Linked DNA regions of Homo sapiens: region 2 is linked to region 1. Evidence: promoter capture Hi-C in 16 types of primary human blood cells and fetal thymus (Javierre and others, 2016). All regions are on one chromosome and are shown on one strand. Each heading gives the region's core, a stretch centred on a gene start or on the middle of the fragment in contact. The rest is flanking DNA. Distances are from core to core; before and after follow the strand shown. Region 1 holds the start of PBX3 (PBX homeobox 3). Region 2 has its middle 110 kb from the start of MVB12B.

What was found. Contacts are between HindIII fragments. The CHiCAGO score rates a contact against its expected background, and 5 or more counts as called.
Region 2: a fragment that was not itself captured here is called in contact with the fragment with the promoter of PBX3 in region 1 in 1 of 17 cell types (megakaryocytes); the score reaches 7.8 in megakaryocytes.

The regions. Positions count from the first base shown.
Region 1 is chr9:125,744,720-125,748,969 of GRCh38, reverse strand. PBX3 (PBX homeobox 3) reads right to left here and starts at 1,597. Exons shown (of 9, transcript NM_006195.6): 1 at 1,317-1,597; 2 at 347-420. The coding sequence starts at 1,516. PBX3-DT (PBX3 divergent transcript) reads left to right here and starts at 3,041. Exons shown (of 2, transcript NR_122032.1): 1 at 3,041-3,554. RefSeq lists silencers at 623-962, 1,233-1,762, 1,773-1,822, 2,073-2,502. The HindIII fragment of the contact is 3,823 bases long and covers 1-3,759 here.
Region 2 is chr9:126,216,919-126,220,726 of GRCh38, reverse strand. No RefSeq gene overlaps it. Among named protein-coding and RNA genes, the nearest start is that of MVB12B, 110 kb to the left of the region's middle. The HindIII fragment of the contact is 3,975 bases long and covers 1-3,650 here.

The DNA of each region.
Region 1 (4,250 bases), core at 348-2,847:
AGTCTCCCGTTGCTCCTTTTAAAAACTGACACACAAACAAGGCGAAAGGAGAGGGAAGAGGGCGGCTGGCGCTCCGGGCCCCCTCCCCGCCTGCAGCCAGGGGCGGCCGCCGAGGGACGGCGATCCAGCCCGGTCCGCACCTACACTTCATTTTACACCAGGAGCAGAACTGAGAAATTGACTCCAGATTTATTGCAGTTTTTTCTCAAGATCAGGACGTGGGAAGGAGAGAATGATCAAAGATGGCGGTGCCCAAAAGCAGCAGCTCTCAACTGGAGAGTCGAAGGAGTAGCTCCGACCCCCACCTCGGGGGTCTCCAGGCCCACTGCGGGGCGCAGCGTCTTACCTGTTTTCTCTTTGATCTCACACAGGACGCTGAAGAGCGCTGGTTTCATTCTGTGACAGTTCAGGGCATGTTTCCTAAAAAACAAATAACGAAACACAAAGGTATTAGCATCACCTATGGAATAATATGGCGCCTTCCTTTAAGTTAGACCCAAGATTTAATTCCAGCCCCCCATTCTGGAAGGCCCTTTTGAACCGTGGGAAGTCAACAAAAACTCCAGTTGACTAGTTCCCGACAGCCAGCAAGCCCCGGCGGCGAAAGCTGCAGCCGGAACAAGGCGGACCCATCTGCCCGGCAGGCAGCAGCCTCGGCCACTGCAGACGCGACGCGAACCCGCGCGGGGAGCCTCGCCCCGGGGGCAGGCGAAGGCGACCCGGGGGAGGGGACGGGTGCGGAGGGGCTCCCGCGTCCGCTCCTGTGCAGAGGAGGCCGGCCGACTGCGGCCAGCGGGAGGGTGACAGCTCGGCAAAGTTTGCAAGGCGGCCCTCCCTCTCCGAGAACTTGGCCGTCCGCACCCGGACCCGCCAGGGAACCGCCCATCGCCCCGCGCCGGGCCCGGGTGGCCGCCCGCATCGCGAGGTCGTCCCGCGGCCGCGGGAGCCGGCGCCGGGACTCCCCGCCGGAGGAGAAAGTTACACTTCCCGGCGGCGCGGCCCGCACGGGGTCGGGGCGGGAGGTTTAAATCCCTGGGAGGGGGCCGGGCTGCGAGGGGCAGGACGGGGGAAAGGACGCCACGGAATCCGCGCCGCACCGAGTCCGTCCCGAGCCCCCCAGAGCAACTTTGCCGACTCCCGCCCGCTTCGGGGGGCGCGGGCAAGTCCCCCCGAGGCCGGGGCGGGCGGCCGGCTTTCGGAGAAAGTTCCCCGCCGGGGGCTGCGGCCCTAGCCCCGGGCGCCACCCCGGGCCTCGACTCGGCCGCGGGCCCGGCTCCCGCACACACACAAAAGATGCTTAATGAGACGACACCAACTTTGCTTGCGCCTCGTCCAAGCTCTGGTCGGTGATGGTCATGATCTGGTGGAGGATGTCGCCGATGTCCTGCTTCCTGCCGTCGCCGTCCGCCCCTTCGTGGCCGTGCGGGGGAGGCGGCAGGGCCATGCCCCCCTGCACCGAGTGGCCAGCCAGGTTCACCCCGGCCAGAGTCTGCAGCATCCTGGATTGATCGTCCATCCCGCCGCGCGCGGGCGGGAGCGGGCGGCGGCTGAGGCGAAGGCTGAGGCGGCGGCGGCGGCGGCGGCGACGAGGGAGGAGAAGAAAGAGGGGGAGGGGGAGGGGGAGGCGGCCGCGCGCTCCCCGCCCGCGCGGGGAGGGGGCGGCCCGGCCGGCAGGGCCCGCGGCTGAGGCGATGAGGACGGGCGCCCGGCTCCGGCTTCCGCCGCCGCCGAGGCTGAGGAGAAGCGGCGGGCGGAAGCGCCGGGCTCCGCGGCGGTGGCGGAGGCGGAGGCGGCGGCGCCCGCTGCCCTCACGCGGCCGCCGCGCCGCCTCCTCGCCGCCGCGCGCCCCGCCGGGCGGCCCCGCGCAACTTGCTCCTCAGCGCCCGCCGAGTTGCCGGGACGCCCGCCGCCCCCCGCGCCAGCCTGCGCACTGCCCTCCTCGGCCGCCGCCGCCGCCTCGGCCAGGCGGGATCCGAGCCCCGGCGGCCCCGGGGGAGGCAGCGGCGGCGGCGGCGGGCGGCGGCGGAGGAGGAGGCCTGCGGGCGGGCCGCGGGGAGCGAGGGGGGGCGGAGGAGGAAAGTTTGGGAGCGGGCGGGCAGAGGCGGCGGGGGCGCTGAGCCCGGAGGAGGGCCCCGGCGGGCCGCGCGCCGGGCGGACAGCCGATGGATAGGGCGGGAGAAGTCGCCGCCGCCGCCGCCGGAGCCGCGCACCCAGCCAGCAGCCGCCGCGGACCGGGCTGGAAGGCCGCTGGGCCGAGGGATTGACAGGCTGCCAGTGCCACTCACTCACTGCGGCCCCGCGCCGGGGGGAGGGACGGGGGCTGGCAAGGGCGGGGGAGCGCTCCTCAGACCCCGCCCCCGGGGCGGTGCGCGCGCTCATTGGGCTCTGCGCCTCCCGCCGCCGCCGCCGGCACCGCCCCCGGGGCCCGGCCCGTTCCCTCTGGCCTCTGATACTCCGCGCTCCGGAGTGTGCCGCCGGATCCTCGCTCCAACCTCGTCGCGTCCTAGCCCCCCGGGATAGACCGGGCCGGCCCACAAACGGTGTGCCCGCACCCCGACTCCTGCTCCATGCTTTTGGCAGTCATGGGAGCGGGGGGTTGTGTATGGGACAGTGGGCAACTCGCTGCAAAGCCAACCGTGTGCTCCCCCGCCGCGCCCGTGAGCTTCACGCCTCGGACAGCTCCTGGTGCACTTTCCCGCTCTTCCTGTCAGGAGGTGGTGCCCTCTGGGTACCAGGCCGCTCGTCCCGGGCCAATCGCAAAGCGCTTAGAGCCGAATGGGGCGGGACAGAGGCAAGAAAGGGTCGTCCCAATTGGAGCGTTCGAAAGGTTCTGGGCAGAGGCGGGGAAGCGGCGAGTGGGGGCCTCGCCCCGCCTGCGGTCGCCATGGTAACCGAGAGGGCGCAGCTCAGCGTTGGCGCCAGCACCGGGGTCTTGTGCTGTCCCTCAATGGGTGACCAGTTAAGGTGGGAACCTGTGGTCTCACATACTTGAAGTCTGAGCTGAGTGGACCTGACTGCCATAGACTTTCCATTGAAAGGGGAAATGTGTCAGAGAGAAGCGAGTCTGGGAGGAGGGAAAGTGCCTTCAGTCCAGGACTAATTTCAAGGTTTACAACACTTTACACACTCTGCAACTCCTGATAATCCAGGGACTACTCCTTTGGCAGCGTTTGCTATTCGATGCCTCCAGATGTACTGAAGCTGCAAAAACGAGCTCTTCATTACAAAGATACGTTTGTTTAGGAAGAGACTGGATTTCACTTGTCAACTTACCCCATCACCACGAGTCATTTAATGTTGGTAACGCCAGCCACGATTTTTCGTATCTATAACACCCCTTCTTCCATTGAATTCTACCTACAAATAACTGAAGGCTCACATTATTTTGGAATATGGACCTCCGCCTCTTGTGGAGACTTGAGATTGCTCTTAAGCTGATTTCCCAAACAGGGGCTGCAATGTGTGTTCCCGATTTTAGATTCATTGAGCTCACCCTAGATGAGTCCTTTGGTTCGGTGGTTCGGAAAAGTCTCTTTGTTCCTTCTCCAAACTCAGTAAGCTGTCTTACCTGAAACCAAAAATAGGGGTATGAGGATATGAAAAATGGCTCTTACTCTGCAGGGTTTAATGTAGGACAAGCAGTTCTTTAAATGCCAGATGGATTCTTGGAATGAAGCAGGCTACTCGGTTCCAGGTTCTTTCCTTCATATGTTGTGTGTACTTTTAAATACTCCCCACTGCAAAGCTAATAGCTAAGCTTACAGTTAGGCAAGCTAAAATCCTTACAAACTGCACAGCTGCTGAGGAGGGAGTTCCAAAAAATCCACTCTGCTTACTTACCTCCAAAGAAGAACCCCCTTCATGTTCATTAATATTCTCTGCTCTTCTATACCCCATTGATATGTCAAGTTTCCAATTCTTCTTTGAAGCCCCCATTATGGGTTACTTATAATCGTCATTGATTGGGTTTTTTCTTTATTCTTAATTTGTTTTTTAAAGCTGTCACCAAATTCTTAAGCATTTTTGCCAAAAGGCGCAGGAGCAAGCGGTCAACCTTTCATAATTCTCCAACGCTGAGGATGCAAAACCACAGAATTCTAACTGAAAGATGCCTTAAATTCTAAGATTCCTTCCAGCTGTAAAATTCAATAATCCTGTGACTCACTATTAGGACTCCTCTCTGCCCTCCTTCTAGACTCATAATCTTGACTAATCAGTCATGAGGATGAGGCTAATTAGCAATGGGGATT
Region 2 (3,808 bases), core at 414-2,913, 470 kb before region 1:
ATGATGTTATCTATCGTAGGTCCTTTGCTTTTCCACATAAATTTTAGAATTGGCTTGTCAATTACTGCTGAAGGTCTCTTGAGACTTCAACTGGGATCCAAATTTTTCCATAAGTCACTTTATAAAGGGTTTCAGGAGGCTACCTGGCTCCCCTGTCCCTGGCTTTGGTGCCCTACCCTGCCAGTTTGGCCCAAGCTCCAGGCTTGGCACTCTGAAAGTCCCTGAGTGGCCACCTTCAACTATCCTTCCTGCTAATATCATTTCCTGAAAAATCACTATTTCACCTAGGACATTGTCCTTTAATAGAAACCGGCCCAGAGAGAAGGCTGGGGTATCCAAGAGCCCAGAACCCCACGCTTATTGTGACAGTGCAATCTAGTCCTAGAGGTAAAGAAACAAGAGTCATTGCCTGGGTTGAAATGTTATTATCTCTGGGATTTGCTTCAAAATAATTGAGGGAGAGCAAATGGTAAAATGGATGAAACAAAATTGGTTATGAGTTGATCATGATTGAAACTCGTGAAGGCTGCAGAGGGCTCATGATATTATCAGCTCTACCTTTGAATGTTTGCAATTTTTATGGCAAAAATTTAAAAAATATACCCTCTCCAATGAGTCAACCTCCTCCCTCCCCTCCCATTATTTACCCCAAGCCAGGGCCTGGATCCTGCTGCTCTTTGGTTAATGACAACCCCTTGGCCATCTGCAGCGTCCCCAGTGGCCACTCTGTCCCCATGCCCCGTGCATCACGGAGCAGATGCTGACCCTGTGGGGGCGTGACCTGGCTGTGCAGTTGGCCGTATCTGGGCGTCTCCTGATGTGGAGTCGGCAGGTGGGTTTCCACATCACCTCAAATGATTTTTAAGCTGATTGAACTGGAACAGCTGCCACCCACAGCCCAAGGCAGGGCCCCAGGCCAGCCCCAAGCAGCGACAGCCAGTGTGGCTGGACACCGAGAGCAGGGAGGGGGTTGCGGGAGAGGAGGTCGGAGAAGGGGGGCAGGGAGGGGAGCAGATTGTGGAGGGCTTTGGGGTTGTGGCTGGCCTTTGAAGTGAGGTGGGCCCCCTGGAGGAGGGCTTGGAGTGAAGAAGCAGCAGTGTCAGCCCTGTGTTGTGAGAGGTGCCTGGGACTCATGCATAAATTGCTGGATGGAGGCAGAGAGATAGGTAGGAGGCTGCCCTGGCCATCCAGGTTGACTGTGACTGACACAGGCTTGCACTAGGGTGGCAGTGGTGGAGGTGGCCTTTTGACCACTTTTGTGGTCTGGTTGGGGATGAATGTCAAGGGAATTGCTGATGAGTTTCCTTATGGGTTGGAGGTGAGTTGAGGGAGAAGGGGAGGTGTCAAGAATATCTCCCAGGTTTTGGCCTGAGCAGCTGGGACAATGGGGTTGCCATGGAGGAGGGTTTAGGGAGGACAATCAGGAGCGTGGCTGTGGCCATGTCAGGTATATGGTGCTCAGTGCACAGTCACAGGGAATTGTGGACCGGGCCCCTGTGTGTGCAGGCTTGGAGGCAGGGGGAGGCCAGGGCTGGAGGCTAAACTCAGGGACTCAGCCATGTGACGGGATTGGAAGACATAACACAGGAAGGGGCCACCTGAGGAGTGTGTGCAGCTGGAGGTGTCTGAGGCCTGAGCCCTGAGCACGTCGGGGTTTTAGGATGAGAAGAGGAGGAACCAGCAAAGGAGGCCAGGGAGGATGGTCAGAGAGGTGGGAGCACAACTGAGAGCATCTTGGAAGCCAAGCAGAGGCAGTGTTTTCAGGAGGAAGGTGCGAATGACCATGTCAAGTGCTGGCTAGAGGACAGATATGAGTGGATTGGGCAACAAGGAGGTCAGGAGGTCACTGGAGACCTTGACCGAGGGCACTTTGGTGTGGTAGCAGAGTGAAAGCCTGGTAAGACTGGGGGCCAGAGAGGATGTCGGACCCCTCCTCCACCCTCTCAGCAGTTATTCCAAACTTTTCCTATGTCCCCAAGGATCCCCTCTCCCCACCCCTCCACTTGCTCTCTGGAATTTCATCTCACAGTTAATGGACAGAACAGAAGGCACAGATCAGAGCTCCTGCCTGCCTCTGCCAAACTTGCACGTCTCTTGGACTCACAGCCTCTGCCCTGCTTCCCCTCGGCCTCAGGAGAATGGGGGTCTCTGCTCCTGAAGGGCGCTGCCTCTGCCTGTGCCCACACCCCCATTTCATCTCATCTCCCCAGAAACCCCCTCCACCGAGAGCCCTCCTCTTCTGGGGTCCCCAGCCGCCTCCCCTTCCCTGGCACATCCTGCCATGAAACCTTATGCTGTCCCATCTCTTAAAATTTCCCTGGGAGCAAATTTCTCATTTCATCAAAGCTCTCAATTTCCTTACTCTGCCAACTTTCTTAAAATAGTCTATATGGGATCTCTTCGTGGGCTCATGGCCTCACCCTGGGGAGGGCGGTGGGGGTTGCAGGTGCTGCCCCTGAGCTCATTTCCCCCAAAGTGACACCTTTTCAGACAAGAGGTGCACAGAAAGCACCAAAAAGCAAGGCTAGGCTTAGAGATCTACTCCCTTGACAGTGAGTCTGGCTCTCCACTGCACCCTTCACTCACTGCAATCTAACTTTGTTTCCTGCGTCTTCATTGAAGACATCTAGAACAATGCTTCCTGCTTCCTTGCTTCCTCTTGCACTCCCACGGGGCATGGCCAGGGCTGGGCCACACTGCACCAAATAGAGGAGGCTGCATGAGATGGGAGGGTGTCTACCCGGGATGCCCCCACAGAGACCAGAACTGCCCGCCACGGTCACAGCCTAAACTGATCTGGCTGCAGCAGTTTGTAAAAATGCACGGGTTAAGGTGAGAGATTCTTAAGCAAGGCTGTCAATAGGGCAAAGGAGGTGGTGGCCTTTTTGGTGGTGCTGGTTGCATGGATGCAGGCGAACACCCAGGTTTAACAGACTCTTGCAGTACTAGAGTTTGCACCAAAGAAGGAAGCTGGGTGTCATCCCTGAACCAGGGGTGAGCCAGGGAGGAAGCAGCTGGGGTTGCAAGTCCAGAGCCCTGACCCTCAGCCTCATTACCCATACACCTCAAATTGAGGCCTCCTTCCCTGCTCAGCCTTCTCCCCTTCCCTGGAGGAGGCTGGGGCTGCACACAGCACACTGCACCCCGAGCTCCAGTCGGGAGAGAGGAGTTGAATATTCAGTATCTGGGGAGACAATAAAAGTCCCAGGAAGAACCTGGCTAAGGCAATTACCTCTGCATAAATGCATATATTATTCATCCGTGGCTTTGAATATATAAATAATACTGATACAATTTGCATGTGTTAAAAGGAGATGTAATTACCCACTGATGCCTGTGAGCGCCTGGTACCCACTGGCCACATCCCAGGCCTGCTGCCCCACCCCCAGTGGCCCACCTTTGCCCTTCTAGAGACAGAATACATCGCATATGGGTTTTCTGCAGTTGTAAGGAAGCCAATCTTGAATGTCCCTGGGGGTTTGGCTGGACGGTGCTTTTTCAAGAACCTGTGGGCTGCTTTGCTGCCCGACTCTGTTCTGGAAACTTTGGGCTATTTTAATATGATTATAATAATAGTTACTTTTAAAATCACATTTTTAGTTACAAAATAATGGATGGTTCTTGGATAAAATTTGGAAAATACGTAAGCTTGAAAATGAAAAAGAAAACTCATTCATTATCTCACCGCCCAGACAAAACCACAGTCCATGTTGTCTTATTTCCTGCCAGTCTTATTTTTCTATGCATAGATAAACTTCTTTTTACAAACTTTGGATTATATTATACATAATGTTTTCTAACCTGCTTT